Regions from separate parts of the Homo sapiens genome. Here all the other regions are linked to region 1. Evidence: promoter capture Hi-C in human tissues and cell types (Jung and others, 2019). All regions are on one chromosome and are shown on one strand. The core of a region is centred on a gene start or on the middle of the fragment in contact, and the rest is flanking DNA. Distances in the headings are between cores, read along the strand shown. Region 1 holds the start of DSCAM (DS cell adhesion molecule). Region 2 has its middle 130 kb from the start of DSCAM. Region 3 has its middle 98 kb from the start of LINC00323.

The links. The method cuts DNA at HindIII sites, captures the fragments that hold promoters and counts their contacts. A contact is called where the count stands out against the background at its distance.
Region 2: a fragment that was not itself captured here is called in contact with the fragment with the promoter of DSCAM in region 1 in 2 of the 25 tissues and cell types used here (dorsolateral prefrontal cortex and heart left ventricle).
Region 3: a fragment that was not itself captured here is called in contact with the fragment with the promoter of DSCAM in region 1 in 1 of the 25 tissues and cell types used here (H1 embryonic stem cells).

Annotation. Positions count from the first base shown.
Region 1 is chr21:40,845,331-40,848,422 of GRCh38, forward strand. DSCAM (DS cell adhesion molecule) reads right to left here and starts at 1,828. Exons shown (of 33, transcript NM_001389.5): 1 at 1,289-1,828. The coding sequence starts at 1,331. The HindIII fragment of the contact is 24,098 bases long and covers 1-3,092 here.
Region 2 is chr21:40,977,282-40,980,399 of GRCh38, forward strand. No RefSeq gene overlaps it. Among named protein-coding and RNA genes, the nearest start is that of DSCAM, 130 kb to the left of the region's middle. The HindIII fragment of the contact is 4,912 bases long and covers 1-3,118 here.
Region 3 is chr21:41,048,510-41,051,575 of GRCh38, forward strand. No RefSeq gene overlaps it. Among named protein-coding and RNA genes, the nearest start is that of LINC00323, 98 kb to the right of the region's middle. The HindIII fragment of the contact is 5,495 bases long and covers 1-3,066 here.

The sequences.
Region 1 (3,092 bases), core at 578-3,077:
ACAATGCTCATGCATTTCTTCTGGCCTGTTGGTATGCTGATTCTTTAGGCACTGTCTAGGTAGGCAAAGAAAATGCACTGCCTTGCAGCCAACACACAGAGCTTCCCTGTGTGTCTTCCAGGAAAATCTTAGAGCCTCCCCTTTGCTTCTCGTATTTTCTCACAAGGGCCAGATTTCCTCTCTTCTCTTCTTTTACCTTCTCTTCTTCTCCTCTCTCTCTCTCTCTCTCTCTCTCTCTCTGTCTCTGTGTCTGTCTCGCTCTCTCTCCCTCCTCTCTTTCTCTCTCTCTCTCTCCTCTCTTCTGGCTAGGGGATTCTGCTTAATGGTTTAATTTCAACTGTCAGTAGGTTATACATTTTATGCAGATGTGTGTTCCAAAATTTGAAATGGGAATTTAAGCCGTAGCTACTCCCAGGCGATGTCAAATGATGACAATTTCCTCTGGTTCCCACAAGAGAGGAAGCCATTCATACATGTAAGTTCATATTTATGCGGTGACAGGCAGCCTAAGGTGCAGTCACACTTACTAATTGGGTCTGACTCAGTCAAGAGCAATAGCTTTCTAAATACCCAGGAAGAAATCATTTCAAAATATAATATTGGCTGGGCATGAGGAAATGTATGCTATTTACAATATTCACTGATTTCATTTTTACAACTATACAGGTGTTTTTTTTTTTTTAATTTGTCAACATTTCAGATGATGTAATGCTTATCAGTGCATATTTTTACATAAACGACTGTGAGGAGCATGAAGCAGCACGGGGTGCATAGAAGGACAGAACATTCTTAAAGCCCTCCTTGGTGCTGGAGATACATTGTACTAGCATGAAATTACGTGTTTGAAAAATCTCAAAAAGCATTGAATCTGAAGGGAGATGTTCCTCATTGACCCCTCCACTTGCGTGCACTTGGAATGTCACATCCCTTTCCAGGTTGTAATATTCAAAGTGGCAATCTTCCTGTCTCTCCTTCTGTCACCAAACCTGGTTTATTCTGAATGAGGCAGCTCTCTAGTACTGGAGTTAGGCTCTGAGCTGTCACTTGGCTAGGTAAGCGCCTTCCAATGATTACAGAGCAATTTCTCCCGGGCCTCTCCATTGCCACCTCTTCTCCCCCAAAAAATAAATATGATATTTAAAAAATAAATAAAAGCACGAAATTTTAAACACAGATGAAGCGGAAAAAGAAAGAAGACTTTACCCATGCATCCAATGCCACCCCCCACCCCCCCGCCCCCCCGGTCAATGATAAGGAAACGAAATTCATCACAAACCGAAAGGCTCACCATTCGCGAAGCTCTGGAACAAGGAGAGAGCCAGTATCCACATGCCCCTGCCGCTCCCCGGCCTCCCGCGAGCGACGCGCCGGCCTCGCCCCCCGCGCTCCGCCCGGCCCGGCTCCGCTCGCCGCTCGGCACCTGCCCGGGGGCCGCCGCCCGCCCGCCGCCCGCCGCCGCCGCCGCCGCTGCCTAGCCGCCCGGGCACGCGGCGCGGCCGGGCTCCGGAGCGAGGGCTGCGCTCGCCGCGCGCTGCGCTCCTGCACACCTGCTCCCGGGCGCCGCGCCCCACGCTGCGGCCGGAGCCCAGGTGCGCCGTCAGCTCAGTGGGCCCCCGGCAGGTCGGCAGGTGGAGAGAGCCGCAGACGCGGGCGTGAGCTCATCCCGGGCACTCGGCGCCCAGAATGCGCAGCCAGCGGCCTCCCGTGCGCCAGCCCTCACCCTCCGCATCCAGGCAGCAGGCGGGCGGGCAGGCTCATCTTTGCCGTGCTCCGGCCTCAGTCACATGGATCCCTCTGCCAACCTTCCCTGCCTGCGAGCCGGGCGAGTGAAGCCGAGCGCGGAGGCGAGCAGGGACCCCTCCCCTGCCTCTGGCCGCTGGGGCGCTCTGCAGTCTTAAAGCAGCAGCAGAGACGTGCAGCCGAACTGAGGCAGGACCGGGGAGAGCGCAGCCACCGCACAGTCACGCACAGTCATCAGGAGGAATTTCTTAGAGGCTTAAATAATCATTTCAACAGCTGCTTATTTTTAGTTATTTTCCTGCCGGTTGCTAATAAGGGATGGCCGGGGTGACTATTGCGGAAGGTGGCCAGCCACGGAGAGGTGAACATGAAATGCTCGTAGTTTTAATAAAATGTGCAGCTGGATTCCGATTCCGTATTTACTCTCAGAAAAGTCCAGTTCATTTGCTTAGAGGGAAATGCTCCTTCCAAATCCTTGCTGCTACTGTAAAGATCTCTATGATTTCACGGGCTAATTTTTAATTATCTTGAATACATGGTAGAATGCAAACACAAGCACTTCTAATTTTGCTCTCTGAATGGCGCATAAAAAAGCTGATTGAAATTGCTGATAATTTGAGTAATCCCAAACATATAGCCCCTTTCACGTTTCTGTGAAAAGTCAATATGTTAACATTTCCTGAATGTTCTGTATGATTCTTGAAGTCATGATAATATTTAAATTAAAGCTCTCACAAGGGCGTACATCTATCCATCACTTTGCAATATAATGACCGACAGGGCTGGAATGCACCCCAGTGTAGAAGCCAGGATGGAATGCTCACAGTCAGGACAATCAGGACTGAAAAAAAGCATTCGGTGGGGGTCAAGGGAGACATTTTCAAGGGAAATTGAGTAGGCTTTTTCCTAGGCACTAGGTATCCTAACTGGGCTCCATGTCCCCCTCCAAATACAGAAGAATGATGCACATCTCAGACAGCTCACAAAACACAGGAGAAGCAAATGGTGAGGCAGAAACAAAATGGTGCTTTACCAGGGTTGGGCACAAGATGGCCAGGCCCTGTGTACCAGGAAGGGTCAGCTGAGCCGGTGATGCTGCCTGGCTCACCACGGCTCTGCAGCTGCAGGTGATCACGTGCTGCCGCCCACTCAGGCTGCGCAGGCCCAGCCCCCAGTACCACGCACCAGAACCAGCATCCTCTGGCTTTGCAAATGCTGGGTGCTCAGTCCCTGGTCCTTCCCAAATGCAACCCAGGAAGGCAGGGGATGGGCCTGATTCTGTCCCTGCATCTGGCTGGTTGACCTATTCATTAATTCTTACTTGCACACTAGCCACCTGCAAGGGTGCCCAG
Region 2 (3,118 bases), core at 504-3,003, 130 kb after region 1:
CATGGACTTTAAGCCTTGTAAAGGTCTTTGAAGATCTCAACCCCCTCATCTTACAGTTAAGAGTAGTGGTGATGAAGCTATTGAATCATTCATCAAGAGTCATAGTGACTTTTACCAGGAGTGGAAGAGATCGCACATGAATTTTTTAATTGATTATACACTATATTGGCTTCATGGGAGGGTACAATAGAGACCTGGTCCCAAAGTAGGATCCCTGGATTGCCAGATTTGTTGTGACTGCATTATAAGAAGACACTGTCAAGTCTCAGAAAAACCTGGAAGATGCCATAGTCAGGGAGACCCCTCTGGGGCCCAATCACTGTCCCCCACACTTGCATCACAGTCCCCTCAACCTACATCATGTACATGTCGCCATCTTTCTTCTTTTCCTAGAACCCAGGCTTTCTTGCAATACCAGTGCCACACTCCTCCATCTACCAACTCTGCTCCCCAATCTCTGATATCCTAGTGAGTTCATTAGGTCCACATTCTACCACTGCCCCTCTTTCTTAACTTGAAACACCACCTTTTAGCCATGCCTCTACCATCTGCTGCCTGATAATTCCTGTTCCCTGTGCACCACATGACTATCAGATCTATCATTTATGGAATGCCTACCAGGTGCCCAGCATTGTGCTTGGTATTTATCATCACTAATTTATTTATTACTAATTTAATTGCCACCAAAACCTTATGAAAATGGATATTATCCCCATTCTAGACATGAGGAGACTGAAGTTCAGAAAGATTAATGACTTGTTCACACTCATCCATTTGTTGTGGTGCCACCAGGATTTGAATCCAAGTCTGACTCTGGAATCCATGGTCTCTCTACTGCCCCAACACAGCATCCCAGTATGCCTTGAATTTTCTGGAACATTACTGATTTCAAACACTTGTCCCTTAGGACTCCTGAGTGTACACACACATATGTCAGATTATTTATTCTCAATTATGTTTAGAAAAGAGAGTACCTGGCAGGGGACAGTGGCTCATGTCTGTAATCCCAGCACTTTGGGAGGCGGAGGTGGACAGATCACCTGAGGCCAGGAGTTTGAGACCAGCCTGGCCAACATGGTAAGACCCCATCTCTACTAAAAATACAGAAATTAGCTGAGTGTGGAAATGTGTGCCTATAATTCCAGCTACTCGGGAAGCTGAGGCAGAAGAACCTCTTGAACCCAGAAGGCAGAGGTTGCAGTGAGCTGAGATCACGCTACTACACTTCAGTGTGGGAAACAGAGAGACCGTGTCTCAGAAAAGAAAAAAGAAAAGAGAGTGGCCATATCTATGTATAAAACTAGTGACACACAATTATTCTGCCTTTGCTTTAGTGCACACATACACTCAGAAATACGCGTGCATATGTGTAATACATTTCATATTTTGAACAAGCAGATATTTCAACACTAAGGAATCGTAAAAATAAACAAAGGTCTGTTTGCAAAGACTCATACCATTACTGTCATCTGTCTACCTTGCACTACAAACAATTTGAAGTCACATTGATTGTTTTCACAATTTTCTCAAATATTTAACAACTCGCATCCTTGCGGGGGATGTTGAGGAACTAGAGTGGTGTTTTCCGATTTTGTTTTTTTGGTTTTTTGGTGGGTTTGTTTTTTCGGTCTTTTTTTGTTTGTTTGTTTGTTTGTTTTTGTTTTGGTCTAATTGGCATTATATCATGTTGAAACATTTTGAGATTTTTTTGAAGTTAACTTTTTTTTTTCCTTTCATTTCTGAGTTTCACTCCCTTGTTTATCGTTTCCAGCATAATTTTTTTTTGGTATACCTCTAAGTAGTCCTTTGTGAATCTACACTGGATGTTTCCTGTTCTTTGTGTTGTTTCTAAAGAAATTGCAATTTTCTGGGCTCTAATTAAAGTGCCCCACAGGATACTTCAGTTTTCTTCTGCTTCATGTAATATTGTGCAATTTTTTTTTATTGTGCTTTCTGCTCCTCTTTATGGATACTGAATTCTCTTCTACTGTGTTCCCTTAAATGCCCATAAGAACCATAAATGAATGTATGTTTATTATGCCTTTCAAAGTTTGAAATATAAATGTTGGATTTCTACTCTTTTGACATCCAACACTTAACATGTAGTGATGATTGCATATTCCCAGCTAATGTGATGAGTCAATAAAGGAGGATTAGACAGTTCTGCTGATATCTACCACTAGAAATGGTGCATATAGGCAAAGGCCAAAATGAAAGAATTCTAATTTTTCTTATAGAAAAGTAATAATGTCTTCTGCTTCCAGGAAGATGTATTAGGGCATGTCAGACCAATAACACCACTGCAACAATTTTTTTTAAGCTGGATAAATTACACAACCCATATTTTTAAAGGATTGGAAAGCTATAGTGCTATGGTTTGTATATGTCTCTCAGAATTCATTTGTTGAAAACTTAATCCCCATTGTGATTAATGCCATTATAAAAAGTGCTCATGTGAGTGAGTTCCCACTATTGCTCTCTTGCCCTTCCACTTCTGCCAGGTGAGAACACTGCAAGAGGGCCCTTCCCAGATGCCGGCATCCTGTTCTTAGACCATTCTCCAGAACTGTGGGAAATTACATTTCTGTTTTTATTAAATGATCCAGTCTCAGGTATTCTGCTATAGCAGAACAAATGAAATAAGACATATGGAAAAGCCAAAGATTAGAAGAACTAAAGCCCCAGAGACAGAAGAGTTCCTTCTAGTGAGGTAGTCATTGCTGGCTGTTTTCTTCTTTTGGCATTATTTGCCAATTCTGGACATCAGTTAAAGATTAGGCTTATCTCAAACTAAGGGATGCTCTTGGTAGGCTTTGGGAAGTCACATGTGGGTAGAGTGATGGCTTGGAAACTATTGTCATCTCCAAACAATTTCCCCATGAGACTTCTGAGTTCTCTGACAGTGCTGGGAGTGGAAAAACCTAGACACAAACACAGATTAAAATTTTCTGTAATAATCTAGTGATTAAAAGACTAAGTCCCATTACAGGGAGAAGCCCTTCAGCAGACATGAAGCTGGCCTCCCTCTCAAGCTGCCAGCCATATTTGAGCCTACGTGCAGGAAAAATTCAAAGCCTCCAAAGGGCAAAGCATTCGAGTTGAGAAAACAGGTCCCTCA
Region 3 (3,066 bases), core at 1-2,500, 200 kb after region 1:
GAGGCTTCAACAGTAAGAGCCCAATTAACAAAAAAGACCAGTGGGAAATTATGCATAATATTTTTTGTTTATTACAAAGAGACTTTATTTTCATATCTCACTGCAAGGAAATTATGTGTGCGACTTGCATAACTCACACATGGCAGTATTCCCTCTGAATTTAGAGTTTTCAAAAATGACCATGTAGAAAGAATTGAGGTGGGAAAATGGTGATTTTAGAAAGACAGTACCACTGTGTCATCAGCAGTGTGAACAGCATTTCCCGTGGCTGTGGCCACTGGTAAGGCCCATAGGCTTGGACAGAGGGGCTATTGTCCTAGCTGTGTCTTCAAAGAAGCTCCAGCATCAGGACTCAGGAATTCTTAGTGTAAATCCTGCTTTAGAAGGGGCCATTTTTCCATAGACTGTCTCATCCATTCCGAGCATGTGACACAAATGACCTCTAATCTTCTTCCATCACGACATCGTACAGATAAAGAAACAGAAGATGAGTGGATTGTGGAGCTAGAGTGCTTGCACTGATTTGTTATGACAACCTTGAGGCCCAAAGTCCTCTTCTGCTGAATGAGATGGGATAAAAAGATTATCTTTAAGGTACCTGAAGCTTTGCTGCTGTATGACCACTAATTCTCAAGGGAACTGGGGACATTCCCAGGATGTCGAGTAACAAAGAAGAAATAACAGCGGTCACATTTGCTCCTCATTCGAGATTCTAGTTGAATTGTTCTTCCTAACTTCCCATGTCCATGACATAGGATAATTTGTGATGTTGCTGAGACCTGTTTTGATGCCAGGTAGGAAGCTGGCATGTTGGAGCAAATCATTTGCCTGAGAATAAGCCTGCTGACCAACCCATATCCCCATTCACAAAAGCCCAGCTGATTCTCTTCTCCACAACACTTATGAGCAGCTCTTGTGAACTGATTAAACTTTTCCTCTTCCTAGAGTAATAAATGACCCAAAAAGCGAGCCACTGGCTAGTGCTAGGTCCTGAACTAAAGAGAAAGAGAGGCAGCCTCAGGAAGCAATAGTTCTTTTTCAAAAAAAAAAAAATTATTTCAATAGCTTTTGGAGTACAAGTAGTTTTTTGCTACATGGATGAATTTTATAGTCGTGAATTCTAAGCTTTCAGAGCACCCCTCACCCAAGTCGTGTACATTGTACCTAATGTGTAGTTTGTTATCCCTGCATCCCCCTCCCACCCTCTCCTTTCTGAGCCTCTGAAGTCCATGATATCATTCTGCATGCCTTTGCATATGCATGGCTTAGCTCCCACTTATAAGTGAGAACTTACAGCTTTTGGTTTTCCACTCCTGTGTCACTTCACTTAGAATAATTGCCTCTAGCTCCATTCAAGTTGCTCTAAGAGGCATTATTTCCTTCCTTTTAATGACTGAGTAATATTCCATGGTGTATATATACTACATTTTCTTCATTCACTCATTAGTCAATGGATACTTGGGTTGGTTCCACATCTTTGCGATTGTGAATTGTGCTGTGATGAACATATGTGTGCAAGAGTCTTTTTCATATCATCACTTATTTTCCTTTGAGTAGACACCCAGCGGTGGGATTGCTGGATTAAAGGGTAGATCTACTTTTAGCTGTTTAAGGAATCTCCATACTGTTTTCCATAAAGGTTGTACTAATTTACATTCCCAGCAGTGTGTGAGCATCCTCTTTTCCCAAAATCGATGCCAACATCTATTGGGTTTTTTTTTGACTTTTTAATAATGGCCATACTTGCAGAAATAAGGTGGTGGTATCTCACTGTCATTTTAATTTGCATTTCCCTGGTGATTAGTGACACTGCACATTTTTTTCATAGTTTTTGTCCCTGGGTGCAAGTGCAGTATGTACTGAAGAGCAAGGTAGGGCCAGGCACGGTCACTCATGCCTGTAGTCCCAGGGCTTTGGAGGCTGAGGCAGGAGGATTGCTTGAGCCCAAGAGTTCAAGGCGGCAGTGAGCTATGATCGTACCACTACACTTGAGCCTGGGCAACAGAATGAGACTCTGTCTGTTAAAGAAAATAAAAAAGTGAAGTGACAATTCAGCAGGGCTTTGTCCTCTGACCGGCCCACCATATATTTTTCCTGGATAAAACCATGTGTAATTGCATAAGAAAATTTTGATATTTATTAAGATCTCAAGACATATCTTTTAAGAATATCAAAGGCCTTTCATATCTACTCAAGTCAAGAGCCATTGATAGAAAGTCCTTTGGCTCAAATACAAAAGAGCATCTTATACTTGAACTGGATAGGAAACCGTAGCTGTGGGGTACTGCAAACCTGTAATCCCAATAGATGTACTAGATCTCCAAGCCCTATGCTAGCAAAAGGCACTGTAAGCCTCTTCCCCTTTGTGCGGTTACAGATAGAAATGTACAGATGCTACATCCCTTGGACAGAGCATGCATCTACCCTCCCACCTTTATTGTGCCTAAATCTGCCAGAAGAATGTTATTTTAGAAAATAAATGTCCAGATCATGAGGGTGTGATAGGATTGGAGTGTTCACACAGAGCATAAGACTCATTGAGGTCATCTTCACAATTATGTAATGTTTGCAGTTGGTTCTTTTAATATCAAGAATGACTACACAGTCCTCCCCAAGTTCTGGCAAGGCTAGGATACGTGATAAATTTCACAGTACACACACATGGCATGGTCACAAGAACAGATAAAAATTCAAGAAGGAAGAGATGAGTCTTTGGCATCACTGCAGTGGGACATTCAGTGGCTCATGGGGGTCTCAAGTCTCTAACAGAGTTGACTGAGCAGGCCCAGTCTCCCATAGGTCCCCAAGTGACTCCGTTCCCAGACCCCTCATCTTCCCAGGCACCAGTCTCTAGGAAGAGGCACATATTGGAGATGCGCAGAGCGAAGCACACTCTTTCAGGTCAGCGATTCCCAACACAACACCCTAGGGGTGAGAAATTAATCCAGACATGGGAAATTAATATGACAACTTTTATTTACTATCATTTTTACTTATCGTACACACATGTAACATATTTGACATGAGTCATATTTCTGACACATTTTACAGTTACATGTATAAAAC